Regions from separate parts of the Homo sapiens genome. Here region 2 is linked to region 1. Evidence: promoter capture Hi-C in human tissues and cell types (Jung and others, 2019). All regions are on one chromosome and are shown on one strand. The core of a region is centred on a gene start or on the middle of the fragment in contact, and the rest is flanking DNA. Distances in the headings are between cores, read along the strand shown.

Region 1 (6,969 bases), core at 4,470-6,969:
ATATTGGCCAGGCTGGTCTTGAACTCCTGACCTCGTGATCCACCTGCCTTGGCCTCCCAAAGCATTGGGATTACAGGAGTGAGCCACCACCCCAGCCTTGAAATGGAAGGGATTTTATTTATTTATTTATTTATTTATTTATTTATTTATTTATCTGAGACAGAGTCTCGCTCTGTCGCCCAGGCTGGACTGCAGTGGTGCGATCTCAGCTCACTGCAAGCTCCACCTCCCAGGTTCACGCTATTCTCCTGCCTCAGCCTCCCGAGTAGCTGGGACTACAGGCGCCCACCACCACGCCCGGCTAATTTTTTGTATTTTTAGTAGAGACGGGGTTTCACCGTGTTGGCCAGGATTGTTTTGATCTCCTGACCTCGTGATCTGCCCGCCTTGGCCTCCTAAAGTGCTGAGATTACAGGCGTGAGCCACCACACCCGGCCAATGGAAGAGATTTTCTAAGACAGATAGTAAGCCTCCCATCTTTGGAGGCATGCAAGCTGGGACCCAGCAAATCTCTGTCTGGGATGTTATGGAATCCCTGAGGGTCCTCCCATCTGTTAGACTCTGTGATTCTGGAAGTCAGAGTTCTAGGAACTACCTGGCTACAAAGGGAAAGAAACCCCAGACCACACCACACTGCAATACGTATGTGCCCAAGGCGGCCCTCTCCATCACGCTGGGGAAAGTAGGCGGGGAAGGGGGTTCCTAAAGGTTGAACCTGTCGGGGAAGAATTTTTTTTTTTTTTGAGACGGAATCTCGCTTCTTCTCCCAGGCTGGAGTGCAATGGCTCAATCTTGGCTCACTGCAACCTCCACCTCCTGGGTTCAAGCGATTCTCCTGCCTCAGCCTCCCTAGTAGCTGGGATTACTGGCATGTGCCACCATGCCGGGCAAATTTTTGTACTTTTAGTAGAGACAGGGTTTCACCATGTTGGCCAGGCTGGTCTCGAACTCCTAACCTCAAGTGATCCACCTGCCTCGGCCTCCCAAAATGCTGGGATTACAGGTGTGAGCCACCTTGCCCAGGCCAGGTAAGGTTTCTGTAAGGACTCTGATGGGTGGGATTTTGATGGGTGGGGGGTAAGGGGGGGCACTGATGAGGGGGAAAGAGCCAGGGAGGCTCAGCTGTGGGCCCTTGAGGAGGCCTTCCAGTTACAGAAAAGCAAGAAGGCTGGAGGGGTAAGTTGGGTCCCAGGTGAGAAGCTGAGATTTCTTCATAGGTAAGGGTTACTCTAGAGGTGTTTGACAGGGAGAAATCACACACACACACACACACACACACACACACACACACACACACACACACTTCAATTTGATCTAAGAGAAGTCAGGTTACAGGGCACGGCCAGGGCAGCTCAGAAAGAAATCCCCGAGGGCAGCCTGGGGGGAGGGGTGGTGCAGGACAGATGTGGGGGGCCAGGGCTTTCCCAGCTGATTAGATTACACAGATCTCAGGACACTTTCAGCCTTAGCCAAGGAGCCTTTTACTCCCTTGCTACCAACCCTCTCTCCTCAGGGCCTCACTGGGGCCTCCCTAGGGCCCTAGGTCAGGGAATGTGAAATCTGAGATTTTCCAGGAGCCTGAGCCCTGCAAGGATGGAATCTTCTCTACCTCCACTGCCCCAGCCTCTCCCCCAGGTGCTCCACTGCAGCCCCGGCACTATCCTTGCTTCCACTCTTGCCGCCTTTAGCTATTCTCTATACAGTACCCAGAGTCAGCTTTTACATTAGCTCATGTCTTTTCCCTGATTAAAAACTTCAACACCTGTTCCTGCTTCTAGAACTCCAGTCTCCTCACCATGCCCTATAAGGCCCTGCCTGGGCTTTCCTCTGCCCACCCCTCCGCCCTCCCCTCCACCCTCCCCTCCCTCACTGAGCTCTGGCCACACTGATCTTCCTGTTCCTCATGGAGGCCAAGCCCTTCCAGTGTTCCCTCTGCCTGCAGTGCTCCTGCCCAGGCCTTTAGAAGGTCAGCTCCTCTTCCTCGTTCCCCTCCTGGCTCAGACACCACTTTCTTGGAGAAGGCTTCCTGGAGTGTCCTCCCTTCCTCCCAGTGAGTACCTCTTGTAGGGCTTCTCAAAGCGTAATCCTGGATCAGCAGCGTCAGTGTCATCTGAGAACTTGCTAAAAACGGGAATTCCTTCGCTTTACCACAGACCCACTGGACCAGAAGCTCTGGGACTGAGCCCTGCAATCTATCCCTGAATGAGCCTTCCCGGCAATTCTGAGGCATCTGAGGTTTGAGAAGCACCATTCTATCATGTCATCAGATGATCACATTCTGACTCTTCCCATCCTTTGTCGTCGTTCGCTTATTTGTGATTTATCTGTCTCTTTTCACTAGACCATAAGTTCAATCATGGTGGGGACTTCGTAATACTCTTCTAGTATATCTCCAATATGTTGGACAGTGCTTGGTATTTGATAGGTATTTTTTTTGAATAAGTGAAAGAATAAATGGATGGATGGATGGTCAAACTAGGAGAGTGAGGAGAAATGCATTAAGGGTAATGCTTTCCTGGATTAAAGGTAATGCATTTTCTCTGGGACCAGTTGAATTTAAGGAGCTGGTGGGATCTCATGGGGCCGATGTAGGTGGCAATGTCACCGTTTATTCCTTATCAGTTACTTTACTCCCCGGGAGTGATCTAAATAATAACATGGGGCAGGGTTCCAGGCTGCGGTGACTTGGGAGATACCTGTTCTCAGGCAGAGGGGAGAATTCTGAGCTCAGAGGGTCCCAGTCCAGTCAGAGGAGAAGCCAAGTGGTCAGAGCAACTCCTCAGTCCCTCACTGCTAGGAGATGCTGCTTCCTTGGCTGCACAGTGGCGCTAGCATGAGGCAGAGGGAGAAAGCAATCATGAAACCCCTGGAAGAGGATCTTTAGAGGGACAGTATAGGCCAGGCATGGTGGCTCATGCCTATAATCCCAGCACTTTGGGAGGCTGAGGCCGGAAGATCACTTGAGCCTAGGAGTTCAAGACCAGCCTGGGCAACATGGTGAAACTCTGTCTCTACAAAAAATAAAATAAAATAAAATTAGCTGGGCTTGGTGTTGCATGCCTATAGTTCTGGCTACTCAGGAGGCTGAGGCTGGAGGATCACTTGAGCCCAGAAGTTTGAGGCTGCAGTGAGCTATGATCACACCACTGCACTTCAGCTTGGGTGAGCGACAGAGCAAGACCCTTTCCCTCTTAAAAAAAAAAAAAAAGACGTTATAAACAGCGCTTGCATCATACATGGGCAAAGGGAAGGGGAGAGAGAGAGAAACAGAAAGAGTGTATCAGAGGGAGTATAGCATAGTTCTTTTAATAGAATGGGACTAATAAAGACAGTTATGCGGTGCCTGCTTCCCTTTTCCCCAATGTCTCCTAACTCCTCTGGGGACTTCTGCTCCCTCACCAGAATGACCGTGGTGACCCTCAGCAGTGCCCTGTGCTCACCAGAGGGTGAAGCATAGACTGGTGTATGACAGGGGTGAGCGTGCCAGGGCACTGGTGGAGGAAAGCCTGCTCCCTGAGCAACATGCCCCACCCTGCTCCAGTGGCCTAGGGAGGGGAAGAGAGATGCCCTGCTGGGTCAGAGGGGGAGGAGCAGGGCCTGAACAGTCCAGTCTGGGATCCAGCCAGGGGAGCTCTGCTGGCTAAGAAAGAGGAGAGGAGCTGGAGATATTTATCTGGTCCTGCTCACAGAAAGCTCAGACTCAGGGGGCCTGGCTCCGCACCTGGCATTCTAGGTCCTGTCTTGCTCATCAGCTGTTAGTCACCTCACATCTGTCACTACAGCCAGGCTGGCTCCTAAGTGCCCACCTACCATGCTCCATGCTTTTCACTTCCAGCCTTTGTTGGTGACAGCTCACCCCTGCCACCAGCTGTTCTTATTGCTCTGTCCTGCTACACTGTAGATTCCTGGAAGGTGAAGAGGGAGCCTGATTTCTCTCTAGGTCCCTTGTAACACCTCCCCAGGGCTGGTATAGAATTGTGCTCCATGAAGCGGCATTAAGCAACTACATAAGCTTAGGTCTCCCCTTCCCTGATGGAGCTCCCTCTCCACCCTCAACCCTCCTCTTCTGAACATTTGCTGTGCTGCCTTCATTCCCCTCCTTCAGCACGGAAGCCCTGAATTCTGTCTACCCGCTTGGGCACTGACTCCTCGCAGCCCAGCACAGAGCTTGTCACACAATGGACTGGTTGATGGAGGATGTCCTTCTTTATCCTGCCCCATCCCCCAGAAGTACACACAATGGATCTGGAGAAGGGCAGAGCCCATGGGAGAGAGGCCAGTTCAATCCCCTGCCTTGTCCACCAGGGGCTAGCATACCACACGCATGCCTGTCCCTGCTGCCATGGCCTTCTTTCCCTCCTCTGACCCTTCTACGACCCTGGACCCCTGCAGGATTGGCCTGGAGGAGAGGCCAAGGGCAGGTGAGGAAGAGTGTATGGGTTCCCAGGCGGCCTGCCACCTCCCTGTGACTCCCATCTCTTGAATTCCCCCAATCATACTGGCTCTGCCTCCTCCTGCTGAGTTCCCATTGTCCCCTACCCCCACCCTCCCCAACCCAGGCCAGTGGCTGGGTCCCGCCCCTACCTTCGATGGGGGAGTTGATGAGGATGACGCGTCCCATGGGCGATGAGGCTCGGATTCCGCGGGGGGGCCCGTTCAGCAGCCGTTGTTGCTTCCTTAGCAGGTATCGCGTTGCGGTGGAGCCTGAGTCGCTGCCTAGGTGGCCTCGGGAGGAGAGGGAGCTCAGAGAGCCGGAGCTCAGGTCTCCTAGGCCCAGTGGGTCGAAGCCCACTGCGAAACCCTGCGCCATGGCGGCTGGGCTAGGGCGGCACCCTACAGGTCCAGAAGGAATCTGCTAGCTCTGGAGAGGCCAGCCCTGCGTGCTTCGAGCTCCATGAGCCTCTGTGCGGGGCTGGGGTCTCAGTAACGTGAAGGCCCTCGCTTGCGATGCCTCTCAGAAGTGTGAGCTCCAGGCCTGGGCAGGGAGAGCAGGGATGAGGGAGGGGTGTAAATGTTTCCCCTGCTGCCCCCTAAAACTTCCACCCCTCCCCCTGGTTTAAGCATCCTGCCCTCCCATGCCTTAGGCCCCCCTCCTGTCTCACCCTAGGCCAGAGAACTGCCCCGTCCAGGCACCATCTTGGACTCTCGCTGACTTTATACAAGGCAGGTGGGAACCTTTCACCCCTCATTCCTGCTCGGGGCTGAGTCATCTACTCCCGTCCCCAGTCCTCAGTAGAGGTTGAGAGTGGAGTTGGGATTACTGCGGGCCCTGGGGCTTAGAGAGGTGTGAGACAAAAGAGAGGTCAGGACAGCTCATGGCATCACCTCTCTCATGCATATGCGGGCATGGAGGTGGCCCGGGGTGGGGCGGGGGCTGCGTGGGGCGGGCTGGGCCTCGAGGATAGGGCTTCAGGACCTTAGACAGCTGAGGCCCAGGAAGACCCCCAGACACCCGCGGGCTCCAGGCTGCGGCTCCGGGTCTAAAGAGGCTGCATGAACCTCTCCCAAGCTTTGGGGAGGATCTGCTGGAGAGGGGTCCCACGACATCCCGCGCAAAACCCAGGGCCAGTTCCCTCAGAGAAGCTCTGGGACCTAGAATGAAGCACCCCAACATCAACTCGGCCCTCCAGGCCCCCCACCCCTTTGTGCCTGGTCGGCCTCACCTGGTCGCTGGTGTGGCGCCGCCAGCCTTGTCAAACCACCCGCAGGCGAGAGCTACTGCCGCAGCCGGCAAACCCCACCCACGCTGCGCGGAGGCTGCGGGAATTGGGCTGGCCTGCACCGCCCCGGGCTCCCATTGGCTGGTAGGGCCGCCAGTCATTCTATTCCGGCACCTCCCTTAGGCGCCAGGGACAGCCGAGCGTTACCTGGTCCCGGGCAGCGGAGTTCTTTACCCACCCCAGTTCTGGTTCTGACGCCCTAGCTCATTCCGCAAATTTAGGGCTTGGGTCTGGCTTGTTCCCCTCCGGCTCGAACCACCTCTTCTCTGAGCCGAGCCAGCTACCGGGGCTCCTGGAATTGCCACCCCTCCCTGGGCACCCTTGAGGCCTCCGTGGAGGGACGTCACGGGGCAGAGCGGGACGTGAGCCTGAGTTTGCTGCAGGCGTGCTCTGTGTGGTGGCTGGGTGAGTTGTGAGTATGTGCGTGGCGGAGGGGGTGCCTTCTTCACTTGCATCCTCCTCCTCTGTCAGAAGGCGTCTCTGGCTACCCAGTTCTGGAATGGTCGCAGGGTGGGGCAGCTGGTCCCAGGACCGGAAGAATCCTAAGAATCCTTCTGATGCACTTGCTCGGATGCAGACCGCGAGGTTCCTGGGGTCGTCTGCCCCTCCACATCTCAGGGGTGGGGCTACGGTCTGGGGTGCAGGGCTAGGGGTTGGGAGCGTAAGGAGACCAGGGACACAGTGGAGCTAGGGGTTACAGAGGGGGAGCAGGGAGAGGGCTGGGGACATAGAAGAGGCACAGGCACGACAGGAACGGGGCTGTGAAGTGATGCGAATGCCGCGCTGCTACAAGAGGAGCTTGTGGATACTGGGGTAGGAGCCCAGGGGGACAAGCAAGCCAAAGGCCATTGCCAAGGCAGCCATCAAGTAAACAAGCCAGGCGGTAACCCGAGTCCCTCCCGGCGCGCCAGCAGAGGACCGCCCCTCCACACCGCCCACCTGCGCCCGGGGCTTTCTCTCTGGGCACCTAGACCGCTTGCTGCAGGGCTGGGGGTCTGCTGAGGCCCGCCAGGGGACTGTAAACCAAGGGAGCAGCGCCCGCGGCTCCAGCCCCTCCTCCCTTTGGCTGGGGAGGGGGCCAGAACTGATCCCCGAGGTGGGATTGGCTCTGGGAAGCAGCTTAGGGCCTGGTCCAGGTGGCCCAGGCTGGGGGCATCGCCTCGAATGACACCCACCGCCCTCAGGTTCTGCCAATCCCCGTGCCCACCGGGTGGGCGCGGCCGGGAAGCTCCTGCCCCTCCCTGCTGGT
Region 2 (6,969 bases), core at 1,214-3,713, 400 kb after region 1:
TAGCCCACTCCATTTATTTTGTAATAATATTTTTTCTCAGTGTTAAGTGGCATTTACCAGTATAGATAAGATTAATTGTTACAAAACAAACCAATTTGAAGATTAGTTTTTAAATTGAGCCATAATATATAAAATCTTATGGTAATGTGCAGATCTGACTATATTCAAGTATAGTTTTCATACCCATACCAATTGTCTTGTAATAATCGGGAATGCATCCTCTGTGTGGTGTTTGCAAATTAATGCTATTTTGGAAATCACACCGGTATATCTAGTGGCTTTCCTGGGTGTATGTGGCTCATTACTGATTATAATTTTCTTTGGGAATTTTAGTTTAAGGGGATGGGGTAAGCACTTTCAAATTCTTTGTTGTTAGTAGTTTTGATGGAGGATAGGGATAAATGAATGAGGAAGTGTGTTAGAACGAGTAAGTAAACTCAGATAATTTATCAAGTACATACTACAAAAATAACGCAGATTTTTATGTAAAACGGAGGAGACAAATCATTCACAAGAGGAAAGCCTTAAAAACTTACCAAGGAGCATTCACAAAAATAAATATGTATATTTTAATTTTAAAAAGAGCCCCAAGTCTGTGAATGAAAGGGTTCTGGTTGGTTTCTAGACCCAGCTGTGCTTGCTGTATGCCATGCAGGTGGCTTTAGTATGGTTAAAAGTGTCGCCTGCCCTCTTGTGAAGGGAAGCAGGAGAAGCGACAAGCTACCTTCCAGTGCCTCCTCGATTTTCTTCCACTATTTCCTTTGTCCTTTTCCTGTGTTTTCATGCTCTATTTATTTACACCCACTTCTGACTTCTCTTTTTTCTCAGATTCAATCTTTCCTTCCGAATGACTGTGAGATTTTTTTCTACCCAGCACACACAGAAACTTAACCAATTGCGTATGTACAGCATTTCCATTTCTTTTTTCTTTCTTTTTTTTTTTTTTTTTTTTTTTGAGACGGAGTCTTGTTCTGTCGCCAGGCTGGAGTGCAGTGGCACAATCTCAGCTCACTGCAACCTCCGCCTTCCGGGTTCAAGCGATTCTCCTGCCTCAGCCTCCTGAGTAGCTGGGACTATAGGCGTGCACCACCATACCCAGCTTATTTTTGTATTTTTAGTAGAGATGGGGTTTCACCGTGTTGGCCAGGATGGTCTTGATCTCTTGACCTTGTGTTCCACCCACCTTGGCCTCCCAAAGTGCTGGGATTACAGGCGTGAGCCACCGTGCCCAGCCTGTGTACAGCATTTCTTATAACAATGAGTTACTTTTATGTTAAGGATTTTTTTTTTTTTTTTTGAGACGGGTCCCTTCCTTCCTTCCTTCTTCTCTTTCTTCTCTTACTTTCTTTTCTTTCTTCTTTCTTTCCACAGGGTCTTGCTTTGTTGCCCAGGCTGGTGTGCAGTGGCATGATCACCGCTCATTGCTGCCCTGATATCCCTGGCTCAAGCAGTCCTCCCATCTCAGCCTCCCCAAGTAGCTAGGACCACAGGCATGTGCCACCATGCCCAGCTATTTTTTAAATTTTTTGTAGAGATGGGGTCTCCCACATTACTGAGGCTGGTCTTGAACTTCTAGGCTCAAGGGATCCACCTGCCTCGCCCTCCCAAAGTGCTGGGATTATAGGATTGAGCCACCACATCTGGCTCCAGGACAGTGTCTACTACCAGAACAGCATTTAATAAGTATTTATTGAATAAATGATTAAAATATTAGCCTTAAGAAAATTTTAGTATCATTTACTTAAAAAATTAGCAAAGCATTCTTAATACGTATAAAGAAGTAATATGAGTAGAATGTGATTCTCAACAGCAAGGAAGCTTTTTTTACCCTATTTTCTCCATTCTCTTTCTGTTGCCTTCTCCTTCCAATGTGAGAATCTCTGCTATTAAGAACCGCTGGCAGAGACTGAAATTAGTATACATAATTCTAAGGAGATATTGATGTAAATGGTCGATATGGATTGGCAGGATGACAGGGAGAAGGAAATTATAAGTTTAAAGACAGGGGTAAGATGAGTATTTGAACAAAATATCAAGGTAGGTAGTTAGCTAGAGTGCCAGGGCCAATTAGAAGATTAGAGAAGGTGAGTTGATGTTGGCAGTGGGGGAAATGTCAGATTGACAGAGTGCTTGGATTTCATACAGTAGATATCTCATCATGAATTATTGATGAGAGTGACATGATAACAAAGTGAAGACAATTATTTTTCTATTTAGCTGCTGTTTATAAAATGGATCGTAGCTTGAGGTGAGGAAACGTTGAAAACAGTGAACAAAGTTCAGAGATTGTTGGAGTAATTCAAAGCAGTTTAGCTGTTTTGCTTGGTATGTTATCTGGTGATGCCTTTAGCAGATACCCTTCTTTTGAAGCCCAGTGTCCACTTTATGACTGAGGGATGGATGGAGGCAGGAGGAAGAATTCTGCACTAGAAAGCAACAGGCCAAGATTCTAGTCCCTACTTCCCTACTTTGTAAATTCATAATCATGGATAAATACTTAATTTTTCCTGGGCATCAGTCACCTTACCTATAAAATGAGGATAATGTATTAAGCGTAGTCCTATGGGTGGTAAATAAAATGAGGATAATAATCTAAAATCAGGGGATATACATAGATCTCCTTTGGATTTATTTGCAGCCCATTATCTATCTATCTTTATTTAGATAAGAGACGGGATCTTGCTGTGCTGCCCAGGCTGGATTTGAACTCCTGGGCTCAAGCGATCCACCCATCTCAGTCTTCTGAGTAGCTTGGACCACAGGCACAAACCTCTTGCATGGCTCTCATTGTCCATTTATCAATTTTAGATGGTGTAAACAGTGAATACCATATTTTGTTTCCCAATATTACTTTCTACAACTATATTGTTTTAAGGAGAAAAAAGTCTATGACAATATAAAATATTTCAAAGTCTGTAATTTTAAGGTTTAATGTTACCTATATTGACTACTATATTTTAAAATATGTATCCCTGTTTTTATATGTGCCATGATTAGGTATTTAGTTTTTTAGTTATTATTAGACTGTAATAGCACTCAAGTTGATGGATAAAATTTCATCCTGGGATACTTTTAGAGAAACATGAAGAATATAAAAATAGTTTTGAAAAGTATGGTTTCTTTCTTACAAAGCTGTAGCTGCAATAATACTAATGTCAGTTACTTAGAGCTACTAGAAATGTGTAATTTCTACCTTTTTTGACTACTGAATATACCATATGTATTATATATATGTACATTCTTAGGTATTTTTGTTTGTTTGTTTAGAAGGTTTTAATACCAACAGCTTTCTAGGTGTCGTCTTCTTCCTCTTCCTCTCCCCTCCCCCCCTCCCCTCCCTCCCTTCCTCCTCCTCCTCCTCCTCCTTTTTCTTCTTCTTCTCTCTCTCTCCTTTCTCTCTCTTTTCTCTCTCCTTTTTCTCTGTCTCTCCTTTCTCTCTCTCTGTGTCCCTGTCTCTCTTTGTTGTTGTTTTCCCTTCTGTTTGGGTTGTTTCTTCCCCTCGCCTTATACCCCCCACCCCCCACAGACCCCAATCCATCTGGAAAGATGAAGAGGCAGCTGCTATGGTAACTGTGCATTTTGGTTAATGAATAGCAGACTAACAAGATACATAAAACATACGCAAACTGTGCAGAGTTTGTTGCTGTCAAAGCCGTAGGGATACAATACTTTTTCTTTTCCTTCTAAAAAAAAAAAAAACTCTCTTAACTGTGGTGTTTTGTTTTCTAATTTACCATTCCTAATATTGTAATGTTTCTGTGAACTCCTCCTCTTTCTGCTTAGTCTGCACAGTATTACACCCTGTGGTGAGTTTATGGGAGCTGAGTTGAGGTGCATAGAGGAAAATAATTGATCAACTGGATTAAGAAGTAGATTTCCTTTAGACTGATACATAGAAGAATAGGGACAAAATGTTTTTGACTAAATGTTTGGTTTTTTGAACGATAACTTCTTTTTTTACCTCCTTTCCTTTTGGCCACTACTGCCCCTTTTGGGATTCTCTCTGGGGTTAAAGCCAGTAAGTAGTGTGTTTCTTAAAGATGTTTCTATCATAAAGGTCAGCTGCAACTGGAATATTGCGTTCAGCCAAGCCTTAAAAATTCCTGTAATCTGTGCCATCCTGTCTCATACTGTCCCATCTCATAGTTGTCCTCTCTCTGCAGTGCTCTATGCCCAGGTCTCTGTGGCTGGGCTGCTCCAGCCTGGCGGACAGCATGCCTTCGCTGCGATGCCTGTATAACCCAGGGACTGGCGCACTCACAGCTTTCCAGGTACTTTCTCTGTCTCTGTGGGTTATTTGCGGGCATTAGTGTATGTGTCTAATTCATTAGTATGTGCCTCCTCCTTTCCCATACTTTACTTATATTCATCTTTTCTCCTTCATATTGCCTGTATCTCACATCACTCAGTACTCCTTTAATGATTAGTTTATAATGTAGACCCAGACTGATCCACTCTTAAGACAATGTCATCATGATTGGTTACAAAAATTGACATAGTACAGCTTGACTGTTGGCTTTCAGATCAAGTAGAAGTATGATAGTAGATTTTAAAGTAATCTCAATAAATAGCAGTTCAATACGTAATATTTGCTCTGGACCTACATAAAGCCAATTAGTATAATCAATCAATTAATTACAATCAGTTTCCTGAACATTTTCTTATTTTTTTTAAATGATTACTCAAAGTATAAAGTGCCCTCTTCAGAGTATCTCCTGGTAATTATACTACTAAGTATATATTTTTTATAACTGTTTTATTTATATCTTGATTAACATTTCTAATTTCTAGGTGGAAAAACCTTTGAGACCTTTAGGTACAGTATTCACCTTGAGACACTCTAGCTAGTGTTTCATGAATTAACAGATTCCAGTTCCCCTCAGCCTTTCTTTTTTTTTTTTTTTTTTTTTTTTGAGACGGAGTCTTGCTTCATGGCGCAAGCTGGAGTGCAGTGGCGTGATCTCAGCTCACTGCATCCTGCGCCTCCTGGGTTCAAGCAATTCTCCTGCCTCAGCCTCCTGAGTAGTTGGGATTACAGTTACGCGCCACCACGCCTGGCTAATTTTTGTATTTTTAGTAGAGACTGGGTTTCACCATGTTGGCCAGGCTGGTCTCGAACTCCTGACCTCAGGTAATCCACCCATCTCGGCTTCCCAAAGTGCTGGAATTACAGGCAAGAACCACCGCACACAGACCCCTCAGCCTTTCTTAGAGGCCAGGATGTCAGTTCCAGGATGTGCGAGAAACTTATAGAGAAATAATGTGGAAAATTGTAGACAAAAACGTAGGAAAGAGTTTGGTGCTCATTGCTTACAGATTAGGGTACCATACATGATTGTTTTCTTGACTGAGTCTTATCTGCGTACCTCAGGTATTTGGAATTTGTGTTTAGCATTTTATAGTAATACACAACAAATTAGTTTTTATATTAATATTTGCCTGCTTTTAACCTGTTGTTCATATCTATTTAGAAGAATTTCAAAGATAGGCTGTAAGTGTCAGAAGGCTTGTGACTAAATTTTAGCTAAAAGAGGGGAACTTAGGTTTTCCACATTCCTAACCTATGCTAAGAGTTGTTAATTTTTAATGATACTATTTAGTGATCATAAAGCTGGATATTTTCATTTTTCCTTTACAAAATTTAATATCTTAAGATTTTCAGTTTTCCTTTACAAAATTTAATATTAAACTTCCTTGGCTTATACTATGAGATACAATATAGTAAAGCATGCAGGTTCTAAAATTAGCTAAATCAAGTCTTGAATATTGTCTTTGTCACTAGTGGTATGATCCTGAACTTATTTCCTTATCTGTAAATGGATACTATAGTAAGGGCATGCAGTGATGGTAGCTGCTTTTATCATGATCGTTATAAACATTATTGCTATTATTGGAGAGTAATTGATATCCTGAGACTGCTTATTTATTTCAAAGTGAAATATCTTTTTTTTCCTTTTTTTTTTTTTGAGACAGTCTTGCTCTGTTGTCCAGGCTAGAGTGCAGTGGCACAATCTCGACTCACAGCAACCTCTGCCTACTGGGCTCTAGTTGCCCTCCTACCTCAAACTTCCGGGTAGCTGAGACTACAGGCACACGACCACACTTGGCTCATTTTTCTATTTTTTTTGTGGAGATAGGGTTTCACCATGTTGTCCAGGCTGGTATCGAACTCCCCAGCTCAAGTGATCTGCCTGCCTCAGCCTCCCAAAGTGCTGGGATTACAGATGTGAGCCACTGCACTTGGCTATATCCTATATTTTTAACTACATATCATACTGACAAGGTTCTGCCATTGAAGAATCCATAGTCTAGTTTGTTGGTTTTTTTGTTTTGTTTTGTTTTTTAACCTTTTCGGGGTTGCAGTTAGTTTAGGCGATCTGCAAAGTCTGAGGGAATTGTAGTGCCTAAAAGGCTGCTCCTACTTCAGAAACTAGTTTCATGTTTAGAGGCCCCCACAACCACTCTTAGGTTTGATAACTTGCTAGAAAGGACTTAGAATTCACTGAAAACAATTATACTCACAGTTTATTACAGGAAAAGGACACAGGTTAAAATTAGCCAAAAGAAGAGACACATAGGGCAGAATCTCGGAAGGATCCAATTGTAGAACTTCCTGTCATCCTCTCCCCATGGAGTCATGGATGGCATTACTGCCTCCCAGCCGCAGTGTGTGACAATACTCACAGAGTATTACCAACCATGAAATTGACCTGAGCCTTTGGTGTCCAGGTATTCACTGGGGCTCTATCACATACTGCTCACATGGCTGACTTCTAGTCTCTTATTTCCTCCTGGTGTTGAAACTTATAGGTATGGTTTAGTGCCCCCAACATGAATCACATTTGTCCAGTCGCTAAATCTCTCAGGCAAGCAGAGATACTCTCACCAGACAAGAAGTTCCAGGGGCCCAGAGACCGCTTTCCAGTAGCCAAGAGGAAAGGCCATTCCTTTCTTTGGTGAAGAGTAATT

Evidence for each region. Contacts are between HindIII fragments. The study calls those that stand out against the background at their distance.
Region 2: a contact is called between a fragment that was not itself captured here and the fragment with the promoter of PDZD7 in region 1, in 1 of the 25 tissues and cell types used here (lymphoblastoid cells).

The regions. Positions count from the first base shown.
Region 1 is chr10:101,025,410-101,032,378 of GRCh38, forward strand. It overlaps PDZD7 (PDZ domain containing 7), which reads right to left and starts at 5,720. Exons shown (of 17, transcript NM_001195263.2): 1 at 5,664-5,720; 2 at 4,585-4,975. The coding sequence starts at 4,810. SFXN3 (sideroflexin 3) reads left to right here and starts at 5,825. Exons shown (of 12, transcript NM_030971.6): 1 at 5,825-6,125; 2 at 6,905-6,969. RefSeq lists an enhancer at 6,138-6,347. The HindIII fragment of the contact is 6,870 bases long and covers 4,761-6,969 here.
Region 2 is chr10:101,426,182-101,433,150 of GRCh38, forward strand. BTRC (beta-transducin repeat containing E3 ubiquitin protein ligase) reads left to right here. Exons shown (of 15, transcript NM_033637.4): 2 at 4,164-4,271. Among named protein-coding and RNA genes, the nearest start is that of BTRC, 76 kb to the left of the region's middle. The HindIII fragment of the contact is 4,349 bases long and covers 290-4,638 here.